3 separate regions of the Homo sapiens genome follow, and regions 2 and 3 are each linked to region 1. Evidence: promoter capture Hi-C in 16 types of primary human blood cells and fetal thymus (Javierre and others, 2016). All regions are on one chromosome and are shown on one strand. Each heading gives the region's core, a stretch centred on a gene start or on the middle of the fragment in contact. The rest is flanking DNA. Distances are from core to core; before and after follow the strand shown. Region 1 holds the start of DOCK5 (dedicator of cytokinesis 5). Region 2 has its middle 11 kb from the start of EBF2. Region 3 has its middle 57 kb from the start of EBF2.

Region 1 (4,710 bases), core at 2,206-4,705:
TGGGAAGAAAAAGAAGAGGAAAAAACTGCATTCAATTACCAGACAAGCTAGGTTAGTGTACTTTAGAACGGCACCCCAACATCAAGGACAAGCAAACTGAATGCACTAATACCTGGTACACCTGTTGAGTGCTAGGAATACAAAACCACAATGGTCTGATTCACTGAACCCAAGGATGGCACAGTCCAGGAACTGCGAGGAAGAAGCAAGGAGGTTTGGGACAGTCTGACAAATAGCAAATTTGAAGAAGGGAGTAGGAATGGATTTGAGCCCTCAAGGAAAGGTGAGCTGTCTGAGGCAGAGTTGGGAGGGCACTCCTGGCAGGGACAGGCACAATGGGAGCAAAGTCCCAAAGGAGGGACTCTGCAGGGTATGTTGCACAACAGTGGGAAGGGCAGTTGGTCTGCATTGGAGAGCTAGTGAAAGAAGCCTCGAGAGATAATGCTGAAGATAGGCTGAACCAGATTATAGGAACCTTGGAACGGAGGCTCAGACTTTATCCTGTTGACCACGAGAGACTTCCAAGCAGGGAGGTGACATAAACATAAGCAAGGAGGTGACAAAAACAATGAGTTTTAGCAATAAGCAATGGAGATTTCTCTCTTCAGTTAATTTATCCCAACTGTGGGTCCTTTTGTCAAACCCAGACAAACCAGAATCTATGTCTGGTGAAATAAGTGTTCAGAATTATATCCTGGAGCAGTTTCCCTAACACCTAGGCCCTGGAAATGCAATCCAAATATTTTACACACACACACACACACACACACACACACACAATTTCCACCCATATTTCCATATACATATATATATACACACACACACATATACGCATATATACATATATATGTATATACATATATACATATATGTGTGTGTATACGTGTGTGTGTGTGTGTATATATATATATACGTATATATATGTATATATAGTTTTTTTTTTGAGATCGGGTCTCACAGTATCACCCAGGCTGGAGTGCAGTGTCGTGATGGGGGCTCGGTGCACCCTCAACCTCCCAGGCTCAAGCTATCCTCCCACCTCAGCCTCCTCAGTAGCTAGAACCACAGGCACAGGCGACCATGCCCGGCTAAATTTTTTTCGTATTTATTGTAAAGACCCGTTTGCCATGTTGCTATGCTAGTTTTGAACTCCTGGGCTCAAGCAATCCTCCTGCCTCTGCCACCCAAATTGTTGGGATTACAGACGTGAGCCATCGCACCTGGCCCAAATATTTTTCTTGACTGATAAGTGACACAGTAAACTGACTCCAGAACATAAAAACAAAATATTAAAAACAATTATACTTGCTCCTAGGACTATGGCAATAAAAACCACATTTTTGAAACATGTTTGCATTAATTACCCTCAACTGAATAGTTTTGAAAAGAGCTTTTAATCCTGATAAAATTAGAGTTGATAACATTTCTGTAGTGATTGGGCATTGTAAATATGCTTTCATCTAGGGGCCAGGTGAGGTGGCTCATGACTGTAATCCCAACACTTTGGGAGGCCGAGGCAGGCGGATCACCTGAGGTCAGGAGTTTGAGACCAGCCTGGCCCAGATGGCGAAACCTGGTTTCTACTAAAAATACAAAAATTAGTCAGGTGTAGTGATGCAAGCCCGTAATCCCAGCTACTCGGGGAGGGGGGCTGAGACAGGAGAATTGCTGGAACCTAGAGGTGGAGCTTGCAGTGAGCCGAGATTGCGCCACTGCACTCCGGCCTGGGCGACAGAGTGAGACTCCCTCGTCAGTCCGTCTCAAAAACAAACAAACCAAAAAAAAAAAAAAAAAGAGCCCTGAGGCAGAAGCAACATCTCTACCCATTTCTGAGATGCAGCTAAGGGAGAGACTAAGATTCTAAAAGCAACTTAAGAGCAAAAAAGAAAATGTCTTTTGAATTGAGGGAAAACAAAAAATAATAAATATATAAAGGATCACAACCTAAGAATAATATAGTAAATATGAGACTGTTAAAAAACAAAACAAACAACAACAAAAAACCCTGACTCCTGGCTACAGAGTTGAAAAGCCCCTAGACACGTTGAGTAGCTCTTAATTGAGACTGCACTTCATTAACCAGTGAGGTGAGGAAAAACAGGACCTCAGTAAGGGAGTAAAGTCAAAGACTAAATTACAAACAGGCCAAATGAATGGATCTGAGAGGAAGTGATAAAATTCGCAACACACTCAGCCGTGTTTATTGTAGGGAATCACCCCAGGTCTAACTGCCATTGTAATCACCCCGTTCAGGGCAGAAGTCTTCCCACAGGCCCTCAATAACTTCAATCCTTGATAAAAAGCCAAAGGAGCCTGACTTTCCACCTGGGTCAAAATCCCCGCACATCTATTGTTTCGGAGCCAAAGCACCACCACCAGCAACCCCTGCGCACAACCCGGGGCTCTCCAGCACCGCTGTTCTGAATGCCAAGTGCCCAGCACGGGGTCTGGCACAGTTTCCTTAATAAAATGTCCTCTTCTCGTCTCCAGGATGAAACTCAGGATCCGGAAGGCAGCCTTACACCCTCTCCAGACAGGCTCCGTTAGGGGATGAGTGCGCACAAACAGCCCCAGGGGCCAGCCACCCCCTTCCCGTGCCACAACTTCCTGTCCCTTCCATCACTTCCACGCCACGACTCTAGTTTCCATCCAGCTCACAACTGTCATCAAGATCCCAGTCTCTGGAGGAAAGGGGGCAGGGCGGCTTTCCACCCTCAACTCCTCACTTAAGGGGCGTCTGAGAAGAACCTACGAAAGCGGGGGGCAGAAAGCACTGGGACAATGAGCACCAGTCCATGTGCCGACCCGGGCTGGTCACCTACTCCCAGGTGAAACCCACGCTGGGCGCACCGGGGCGAGCCACAGAGCTGCGGCCCCAAAAGAGCAGCAGGCGCGCCCCCCTCGCGTTGACATTTCCCTGGTGTGAAGTGCCGGAGATTGGGATGCAAGAGCGGGATTACGGTCCCGAAGCTCAGCTGCACTTGGAAGCACTCGGAGTCCCCAAACCCTGGGCGACTTCCCCATCGGCGCTCCCTGGAGAGGACTCCTACCGTCCCCGGCTCCCAGAGCTGCGCAGCCGGGCCGAGCCCCCGGCCAGGGTCCTCCGCCGGGCTCTGCGCAAACCTGGCAGGGCCGCTGTCCGCGAACTTGGCCGCGTGGGTCGGGCCGGGACAAGGTGGGGCGCGCACTCACCAACCCCGTACTTCTGCCTCTTGGTCGGGATCCAGCGGGCCATGGCGGCGACCTCGCCCCGCGGCGGCGGCGACTAAGGCTGCTACAGCTCCTCGGGCTCCGGCCGCCGCCGCCCCGCGCTCCTGCGTGCCCCAGACGCTTCCGCCATGTTCCGCCAAACTTCGCTGGACTCCGCGGGCCGCCTCCTCGCCGCGCCGCCCGCGCCCGTGCCCGTGCCCGCGCCGCCCGCGGTCACCTGCTGGGCCGGGCTGCAGCGCAGCAGTGCGCGCCCCTCCTGGCGCCGCCCCAGTCCCTCCCGCCGGCCGCACCCTCCGCCCGCCGGGGCCGCCTCCGAGCCGCGGGCGCCCGGCCTCTCCCGCCCGCGCCGCTCTCTGCGCTCTGCCGGGCGGGGGCCGACTGCGGCTCCGCCTCGCGCGCTTCCCTGGAGCGGCTTCCTGGGCCGGCGGGACTTTGACGCTGGCGGCACTTTGCCTTTCTCCCGCCCTCCCCACCCGGCTGATACCCCGGAGGCTGGGTCCCGGGGGTCCGGCTCCCGACAGAGGGCTGCGCTGGAGGAGCCGGGCACGCCCAGGCCGGGCGGCCGGTGGGCGAGGGATGCGGGCTGCGCTCCCACGGCGCGCGCCGGACACTTGGGGAGCGGAAACGGATCAGCGAGAGCGGCTTCTTGCTCGGGGCACCTCCGGTGCCTGGCACTAAGCGGGCGCGCAATAAATATTTGTTGAATGAATGAGCAGTTGACTTCTGCCTTCACCCCCTGGAGCTTGAACCCGCGCCGCGAGCGGGAGAAGCCGGACTCAGGGCAGACTGAATCTCCCGGGGCCACCGCTTAGAGCCTGGAAAGCAGAACTTTTATCACCGGAGAGCTGGTGCAAGGGAGGTGGGCTCCTCAGAAGTATCAGACCGTTTGCTAGGGGATCCTCTGCAGGGAAATTGTTTAGAAAGCCCTAATTTGGAAGTCCTGTATCCCCAAACTCCGGGGACCCCCCAACCTTAAGCTGAAGAAACTTAGACCCTCATGCCCAGACCTCCCTTTCCCAACCAGCCAGCAGCCCAGAGAGCATTCCCGTGGAGAAAGGGCCAAGGCGCATCCCCGTCTTTTCTCCGTCAACGACTGCCTTTTCTTGACGAAGATCCCAAAGGGGCTGCGCATTTGAACCGCCTTGGGCTCCAGGTGGCGCCCTCTCTGGAGCTCCCCTCTTGGAATTCATTTCTTCCTGGAGAGACTTGGAGAATGAAGATCCAGGGGTTTCTCCCTACCTTGTACCGAGAAGTAACATTGCAAGTAGAGTAAATGACCAGCTTAATTACGTTCACCTTCGAAGAAGATTCCTCTAGAGAGAAATTATATCCTCCTTGCAGCCTGTGAAGGTTTTCATGCGTTTTAGGAATATAAAAGAAAGGAAGACAAACATGTAGTAAAGATAGTAAAGACAGGTAGTTGGCCAGGCGTGGTGGCTCATGCCTGTAATCTCAGCACTTTGGGAGGCCGAGGCGGGTGGATCACCTGAGGTCACGAGT
Region 2 (4,256 bases), core at 1,737-4,236, 870 kb before region 1:
CATGAAGATGAAGCTCCCTGGTACGGCTGCTTGTAGTTGTAGCTGCCTTCCTGTTCTCCATAGCCCATTGGAGCTTAAATCTAGAGAAGTAAAATGCACAATAACCTAAAGCTTCTGATTCTTTTTTCATTAAGGCCTGGAGGATCTGAATAAAAATCCATCTGGGACTCAGTCTCAACTCCCATTACCTGAAAAACAATAAAAAATTTCTAAACTATATCATCATTATGTTTTATACATGAAAACAGTGAAGCATGCTGATGTTAAGTAGCTCACCCCAAATATTCAAATTCACTCCCCTCTGTAGGAAGAGCACTGAATATGTAAAGTCCTTAGACATAGAAAGAGAATTGGCAGTTTAAAGAAAGAGATCATTTATGAACCATTGTAGAACTACTGGGAAAATAACACTTTAAACAACTTAAATTGTCATTTCAATGAGAGTAAAAATACTGGGAATTAACACTTAAAGATTCTAAACAATTCTTGGGAAGTTTTACCAAACAGAACTGTAATGGAGGCAGTGATATTGTTGTAAAAAATGATAATATCCACATGTCATGTCCAAGAAACTTCTCAAATACTGAGAAATATAATTTTTAAAAGCCCATTATTGCTGGAAACTAGACAGAGGTGCTATTCTCATATAATAAACTTTAAGGAATTTCTCTAAGACATATTACAGGCGTGAGTGGATGGAGGGGAAGGTTCATCCATACAGTCTTCAGTTCTATCTAGAAGAGCTGAAGACTATGTAGGCTGTTGTTAAAGTACCCTTTCTGAAAAAATTCTTACAGGCTCATGTCAAAGCTTTATTTCAGATTTGCCCTGGGGAAAGAAGGTCCTGAGCCAGCCATTGCAGATTTTTTTCTTTGAAGAAGAGGTTGTAGAAAAATACAATAAGGCAGTGCCAGTTAATGTTATCAGACTCTTCTCAAGACTGATAGCTTCTCAGAAGATGCTCTTGAGCTCAATAAAGTCTACCAAAAAATCACACAAGGATGCTAATTATTTCCCAGAAGGAATTATAAATTATATCACATACATAAAGAAAATTGTGTCCCAGACCATATTTGGGACAATTTTCTTTCTTGCCATGCTACAAGGCATTTGGTGGTATAATAGTTCAGTTATAGCTCATTTAATGGAGAAAACAGAATCTGGACCACTATTTTAGACAATGTCACAAGTTAATCTCATATGCATGGGATTAAACATGTGGATGTAAAAGACGAAATTAGAAGTGTTGGATTTTTTTGTGTAATTTTGAGGTGTAGAAAGACTTCTTAAGTAGGACTCCAAAGCACAAAAGTGGACGGAATTGACCAGATAAAAATAAAGCATTGCTAATCAGCAGAGGACAACACTGACCAAGTTATAGACAAATGACAGATTAAGAGATAATATCTGTAACATCTAAAACTGACAATTAACATCTAAACATATAAAATCCTTCCGCCAATCATCAACATCAACAGCAGCAGAAGCAGCAGCAACAACCATCTCCAAGGCTGAAAATCCAGTGGAAAAATGCTATCAATAAGTGGTTAATTGGTGGGGGATCCAAATGGTTAAAAAACGTTTGAAGAGATGCTCAACTTCACCAGCAAGCAAAGAAATGCACATTAAAACAACAGCAAGATATATCTTTATACCCATCAGATTTGCCAAAATTACAAAGTCAGATAATACCAAGTTTCTGGTGCCCTGTTGATGGGAGTATAAATTAGAAAAGTCTGGAGGAATAAAAATAAAACAGGACATTTAGGTTGGTTCCAAGTCCATCGGGGGGTGGGTGGCTAGGGGAGGGATAACGTTAGGAGAAACACCTAATGTAGGTGGTGGGTTGATGGGTGCAGCAAACCACCATGGCACATGTATACCTATGTAACAAAACTGCACGTTTTGCACATATAACCCACAACTTAAAGTATTAAAAATAAATAAATAAAACAGGATGCAAAATGAAAATATTCAACTCTGGCAATGGGAAAAAATTGTTTCAGATACAGAAAATTAAAGTTATAGCAGAATACAAGGTACAGCTCTATGGTAATGTATTTAAAAATATTAATGATATAGATTATTTTATATGAGAATAAAAATTATCCAAATATACTCAGTAAGTGATAGAAAACCTGAATAAATCATTAACCATCAAATAAATTAGATAATTTATCAAAGCCTTTATGGGAAAGTTTTGTTAATTTTTTTTTAATAGAGAATGGGGCGGGGGGGGGCGGGGGGTTCTTGCTATGTTGACCAGGCTGGTCTCGAACTCTTGGTCTCAAGTGATCCTCCCATCTCGGCTTCCCAAAGTGCTAGGATTACAGGTGTGAGCCACTGTGCCTGGCCAAGTTCTGTTAATTTAAAGAAAATATAGATCCTATGCTATTTAAACTAAACTTGTATATTTAAAAAATCATAGAAATTATTTTTACAGAGCTTATATAACCCTGATACCAAAATCTGATGTGCTAGTTGGAGATTGGCATAAGAAATAGAAAATCTTCCAAACATCATAGAAAAAGAGATTTAAAAAAGGGGGTGTGGAGTTTGTAAAATTGTTGGAAGAGTTGGAGAGGCAAACTTCAAGCAGGGCCTTCTAAAATGATCCACAGAACACCAAAGAAGTAAATCTCCAGGACAGAAAGGCACAGAAGAGGAGGTGAGAATAAATGATGGATGTCAGGTGAGTAAATACACAACACACCTGCAAAGACAGAATTAACATGAGAAAATTGCAAATCAATCATCATCTTTTCCCTGGAGTATAAATTTCTCAGGGGTGTGGACTTGGTGTCATTTACCATGGTGTCCCTGGTAAGGTGAGTGTCTGATAAATTTGTAATGGATGCATAAATGATTAAATGACCATGTTGGGTTTACTATAGAAATTCAAAAATATGTCATTATTAGTAAATATATTAATTAATAACAATAATAGAAAGATGAGGAAAAGTCTATAATCACCCTAATAAGTGCTAACAATATATTTGATACAATTCAACATCTATTTATAATCAAAGTTCTCAGTAACCTGAGATAAATCTGTACTTTATAATATCAGACACCAATCATCAACTTAATAACACATTATAAAAATATCCATAATATTCAGACACAATATAAAGTGTATCTCTGATACTTCTACTCTTTGCCATTGTATTCTAATACAATGAAACTAAACAGGTAAACTAAACAGGTAAAATAAATCAGGTTTACTTTACTAGAAAGAAAAAGACCAAATTATCATTAAGTAGGTGATATAATTGTCTACTTGGAAAGTCTAACTGAATCAATTAAGAAACTAGGACAACTAATAAGAGCTAAGAAAGATATCTCTGTGTGTAATAAATGAACAAGTTCCCCATATTTCAGCAATAATCAGGAACTACAGTAGAAAAAAAATACAAACTACCTAGGAATAATTCAAACAAAATTTGTGGTGGACCTATATGAATAAACTACAGGCTTTTTTTTTAAATTTATTTTTATTTTTTTACTTGAGACATGCTTTCACGATGTTGTCCTGGCTGTTCTTGAACTCCTGGGCTCAAGCAATCCTCCTGCATTTGACCTCCCAAAGTGCTAGGATTACAGACATCAGCCACCAAGACCAGCCAATACTACAAGGTTTACTGCAGGACATAAAATAAACTGCATAAACTAAAAAGCATGTGGTTTTTCTAGTTTCTAAATGTCATAAATTTCCAGTTCTAATTTTAAAATCTCTCTCTCTCTCCATATATATATACACATGTATATATACGTACGTACGTATATATACGTGTATATATACGTACGTACGTATATATACGTGTATATATACGTACATGTGTATATGTATACATATATATATATACACATACCAATGTTTCACATTTTGGGAGAAATTAAGGATTATTTAATAAATGCTGTTGGTACAATTAAGAGTTTAGTGACAGAAGTTTGATTTCCACCTCTTAATATAAATGGAAATAAATTCCAGATGGACTATAGTTGATAAATAAACATCAAAATATTTTGAATAAAATGGGCGGGGTGTGGTGGCTCATGCCTGTAATCCCAGCACTTTGGGAGGCGAGCGCATCACTTGAGGCCAGGAGTTCAAGACCAGCCTGGCCAAAATGATGAAACCCAGTGTTTCTACTAAAAATAAAAAAAAATCAGCTGGGTGGTGGCACATGTCTGTAATCCCAGTCGTTCAGGAGGCTGAAGCACGAGAATTGCTTGAACCTGGGAGTTGGAGGCAG
Region 3 (4,338 bases), core at 1,247-3,746, 920 kb before region 1:
CCTTAATTTATCTCAGCAGTGTTTTAAGGTTTTCATTGTGTAGGTTTTATCCATATTTTGTGCATACTTATCTTCAAGTATTTCATGTTTTTTGAAGTGTACAATTTAGTGGCATTAAGTATATTCACAATGTTGTGTAACCATCACTACTATCTATACCTCACATTTTTATCTATAGCTATGAATTTGCCATTCTAGATACCTATTCTAAGTGGAGTAATACAGTATTTGTCTTTTTATATTTGGCTTAATTCAGTAAGCATAACGTTTTCGAGGTCCAATCCATCCATGTTATAGCATATATAAAAGTTTTGTCTTTTTATAGTTAAATATATGCCACTATACAAACATACTGTAATTAATACTGTATTTTGTTTATCCATTCATCTGTTGATGGATACTTAACACTGTTTCCACATTTTGTCTATTGTGATTAATGCTGCTGTGAACATTGCTGTGTAAATATCTGTTCAGGCCAGATGCAGTGGCTCATGCCTGTAATCCCAGCACTTTGGGAGGCTAAGGCAGGAGGATCACTTGAGGTTAGGAGTTCGAGACCAGCCTGGCCTACACAGTGAAACCCCATCTCTACTAAAAATACAAAAAGTAGCTGAACATGATTGCGGGCACCTGTAATCCCAGCTACTGGGGAAGCCGATGTGGGAGAATCACTTGAAGCAGGGAGATGGAGGTTGCAGTGAGCTGAGATTGCACCACTGCACTCCAGCCTGGGCAACAGAACAAGACTTCGTCTCAAAAAAAGAATCCTATATCATCTCTATCTCTATCTCTATCTCTATCTCTATCTCTATCTCTATCTCTATCTCTATCTCTATCTCACCTCTATCTATCTGTATATCTATATCTATAAATCTGTTCAGGTCTCTGCTTTCAATTCTTTGGATATATACCTAGGAGTAGAATTGCTGAGTCATATGATGATTCCATGTTTAACCTTTTGAGAAACCGCCCAGCTGTTTCCCACAGTGGCTGCACCATTTTTCTTTCCTACCAGAAATACAAGGTTTCCAATGTTATCTACATCTTCGCCAACACTTATTATTTTCTGTTTTTTTTCTTAAAATTTAAAAATTACAGCCACTCTAGTAGGTGTGAAATGTTATCTCATTGAGGTTTTGATTTGCATTTCTCTAACGACCAATGATGTTGAGTATCAGTTCATGTGTTTATTGGTCATTTGCACATCTTCTTTGGAGAAACGTCTATATGAATCCTTTGCCCATTTTTGAATTGGGTTATTTTTGTGGTTTTTGTTGAGTTGTTTATATAATTTGGAAATTAATACTTTATCTGATAAAACATTTTCCCCCATTCAGTAGATTGTCTTTTTTGCTTTCTTGATAGTATCTTTTGATGCACTAAACTTCTTAACTTAATTGAAGTACAGTTTATCTATTTTTTCTTTTATTGCCTGTGCTTTTGGTGTCATATCTAAGAATCCACTGCCAAATTCAAGGTCATGATGATTTACTCTGTGTTTTCTTCTAAGAGTCTTACAGTTTTAACTCTTAATTTTAGGTCTGTGATTCATTCTGGATCATTTTTTATATATGGTGTCTAGTAAGAATCCAATTTCATTCTTTTGCATACGGATATCTAGTTTTCCCAACACCCTTTGTTCAAAAGACTGTCTTACCCCATTAAATGTTTGGACACCCTTGTTGAACATCAATAAACATATATGTGAGGGTTTATTTCTGGGCTGTTTTATTCTGTTGGTCCCTATGTCTGTCCTTGTGCCACTGTTATATAGTTTTAATTATTGTAGCTTTGTAATAATTTTTGAACAGAAAGTGTGAGCTTTCCAACTTTATCTTCTTTTTTAGGATTGTTTCGGCTATTTGAGACTCCTTGCAACTTGACTCTTTTAAATCATTAAACCAACTTTGCATTCCTGAAATAAATGTCATTTACTCATAACATATTATTCTTGTAATATATTGCTGGCCTTGTTTTTTGGATTTTTTTGCATATTTTGTTGATGATTTTGCATCTAAGTTAATGAGGGATAGGTTGTAGTTTCCTGTTGTTATGAAATCTTTGTCAGATTTTGGTATATGGGTGATACTATCCTCATTGAATGATTAGGATATATCTGCTTCTCTTCTATTTCCCAGAAAAGCCTATGAAAGATTGGCATTATTTCTTCTGTAAATGTTTAACATAATTCACCTAGGAAGCCATGCAGGCCTGGAGTTTTCTTTGTAATTTTAAAATTTTGAATTCAATTTCTTTTATATATAGGGCTATACAGATACTCTATTTCCATTTGAAACTGTTTTGGTAATTTTTATCTTTTAAGAAATTTGTTCCATTTATCTAAGTTGTCGAATTTATTAAGTTATTATCCTTTCTATATTTTTAATTTTTGTACGTGATTTATCAACTTTATTAAGCTTATAAAAGAGAATCAGTTTTGCTGTTATTGATTTTTTTCTGTACTATTCTTCTGTTTCTATTTCATTGATTTCTGCTTTTTTATATTCTATTCCTTATACTTACTTTGGGTTGAATTTGTTCTTCTTTTTTCTAGCTTCTTAAGATGGAAGCTTAGACCGTTGATCATATACCCTTTTTTTTGTCTTCCAAAATAGCATTTAAAGTTTCAAAACTCCCTTGGAGCACTGCTTTAGATGCATCCCACAAGTTTTGTGCCTTGTGATTTCATTTTCATTTAGTTTATTAACTATGCATTTGAGATTTAAAAGATATCTTCCTGTTACTGATTTTCATTTTCTTTTCTGTTGTGGTTAGAGAATATATTCAGTATGGTTTTAATCTTTAAAATTTGTTGAAACTTGTATTATAGCCCAGCATATGTTCTATCTTTGTGAATGTTTCAGGTGCACTTAAACAAAAACGTATATTCTTTTGTGGTTGGGTGAAATGTTGTATAAATGTAAATTGATTAAATTGCTACATAGTGTTTTTCAAGTCTTTTATCTCTTCAATAATTTTTCCATGAAGTTGCTCTAGTAATGACTGAAGAAAAAATAATCAACTCTTTTTCTCTAATTGTGGATTTCTTCTTTCAATCTTTTGAGGGTTTTTATGTTGTTGTTGTTTTGTTTTTTGCTTCGTTTATTTTGAAATATCTCTTTGGTGCAAACACATTTAAGATTTTTTTACAACTGAATGATAAGTAGTTCTCTTTATTAATATGAATTTTTTTCCCTCTAGTAATAGTCCTTGTTCTGAAATCTACCATGTCTCATTTTAGTGTAGCCATTCCAAGTTTCTTTTGTTTCATGTTTGTATGATATCTCCTTTATCCTTATGTGAAGGAGTATATTAATTTTTGAATGTTAAACTTCTTTATATTCCTGGGATAAACCCCACTTGGTCATGAGGTATTATCCTTTTCTTATATTTCTGTCTTCTACTTGCTAATGTCTAAAAAATCCTGGTCTGTAATTTTATTTTCGTGGAATGTATGTTGGATATTAGCCTATGATTTTCTTTGCTTTCAATGACTTTTTTTTAGGTTTTAGTATCAGTGCTATGCTGGCCTCACCAAATGTGCGGTGAAGTGTTCCCTCTGGCTGAAAAAGCTGTTAAGACTAGCATTAATTGCTTAAGTTTACCAAATTATCTGGGCCTAGAGTTTTCTTTGTAGAAAGAATTTTCATCACAAATTCAATTTCAGTGATATCAAGCCATTCTTTCTATATCTTCTTGTGTCTGTTTTGGTGAGTCATATTTTTCAAGGAATTTGTCCACTTCCTATAAGTTGTCAAATTTGTTGTCATTTAGCCATTAATAACATTTTCTTATCACTTTATTATCTCTGAAATCTTATAGTGTCCTCTCTTTTTTCATTGCTGGTAGTAACTTGTGTCTTTTTTCTAATTTTCTTACTCAATCTCGATAGAGATTTATTAATCTTATTGATATTTCAAATAACCAAATTTTGGCTTCCTTTTTTTCCTACTTTTCATTTCATTAATTTCTGCTCTTTATTATTTCCCTATTTATACTTGTTGTATTCATCTGTTCTCATGCTGCTAATAAAGACATACCCAAGACCGATTAATTTATAAAGAAAAAGAGGTTTAATGGACTCACAGTTCCAGATGTTTAGGGAGGCCTCACAATCATGGTGGAAGACAAAGGAGGAGCAAAGTCATGTCTTACATGGTGGCAGGCAAATGAGCGTGTGCAGGGGAACTGAACTTTAAAAATCCATTAAATCTCATGAGACTTATTCACTTTAAGAACAGCACAGGAAAGACCCACCCTGATGATTCAATTACCTCCCACCAGGTCCCTACCACACGTGGGGATTATGTGAGCTACAATTCAAGATGAGATTTGGGT

The links. Contacts are between HindIII fragments. The CHiCAGO score rates a contact against its expected background, and 5 or more counts as called.
Region 2: a fragment that was not itself captured here is called in contact with the fragment with the promoter of DOCK5 in region 1 in 1 of 17 cell types (fetal thymus); the score reaches 5.9 in fetal thymus.
Region 3: a contact is called between a fragment that was not itself captured here and the fragment with the promoter of DOCK5 in region 1, in 5 of 17 cell types (total CD4 T cells, naive CD4 T cells, naive B cells and 2 more). The highest score is 7.9, in total CD4 T cells.

The regions. Positions count from the first base shown.
Region 1 is chr8:25,183,434-25,188,143 of GRCh38, reverse strand. DOCK5 (dedicator of cytokinesis 5) reads right to left here and starts at 3,455. Exons shown (of 52, transcript NM_024940.8): 1 at 3,193-3,455. The coding sequence starts at 3,235. It overlaps LOC124901912 (a long non-coding RNA gene), which reads left to right and starts at 3,767. Exons shown (of 2, transcript XR_007060861.1): 1 at 3,767-4,710. RefSeq lists silencers at 3,158-3,207, 3,378-3,547, 3,558-3,637. The HindIII fragment of the contact is 10,671 bases long and covers 1-4,710 here.
Region 2 is chr8:26,054,378-26,058,633 of GRCh38, reverse strand. No RefSeq gene overlaps it. Among named protein-coding and RNA genes, the nearest start is that of EBF2, 11 kb to the right of the region's middle. The HindIII fragment of the contact is 4,348 bases long and covers 813-4,256 here.
Region 3 is chr8:26,099,760-26,104,097 of GRCh38, reverse strand. No RefSeq gene overlaps it. Among named protein-coding and RNA genes, the nearest start is that of EBF2, 57 kb to the right of the region's middle. The HindIII fragment of the contact is 153 bases long and covers 2,420-2,572 here.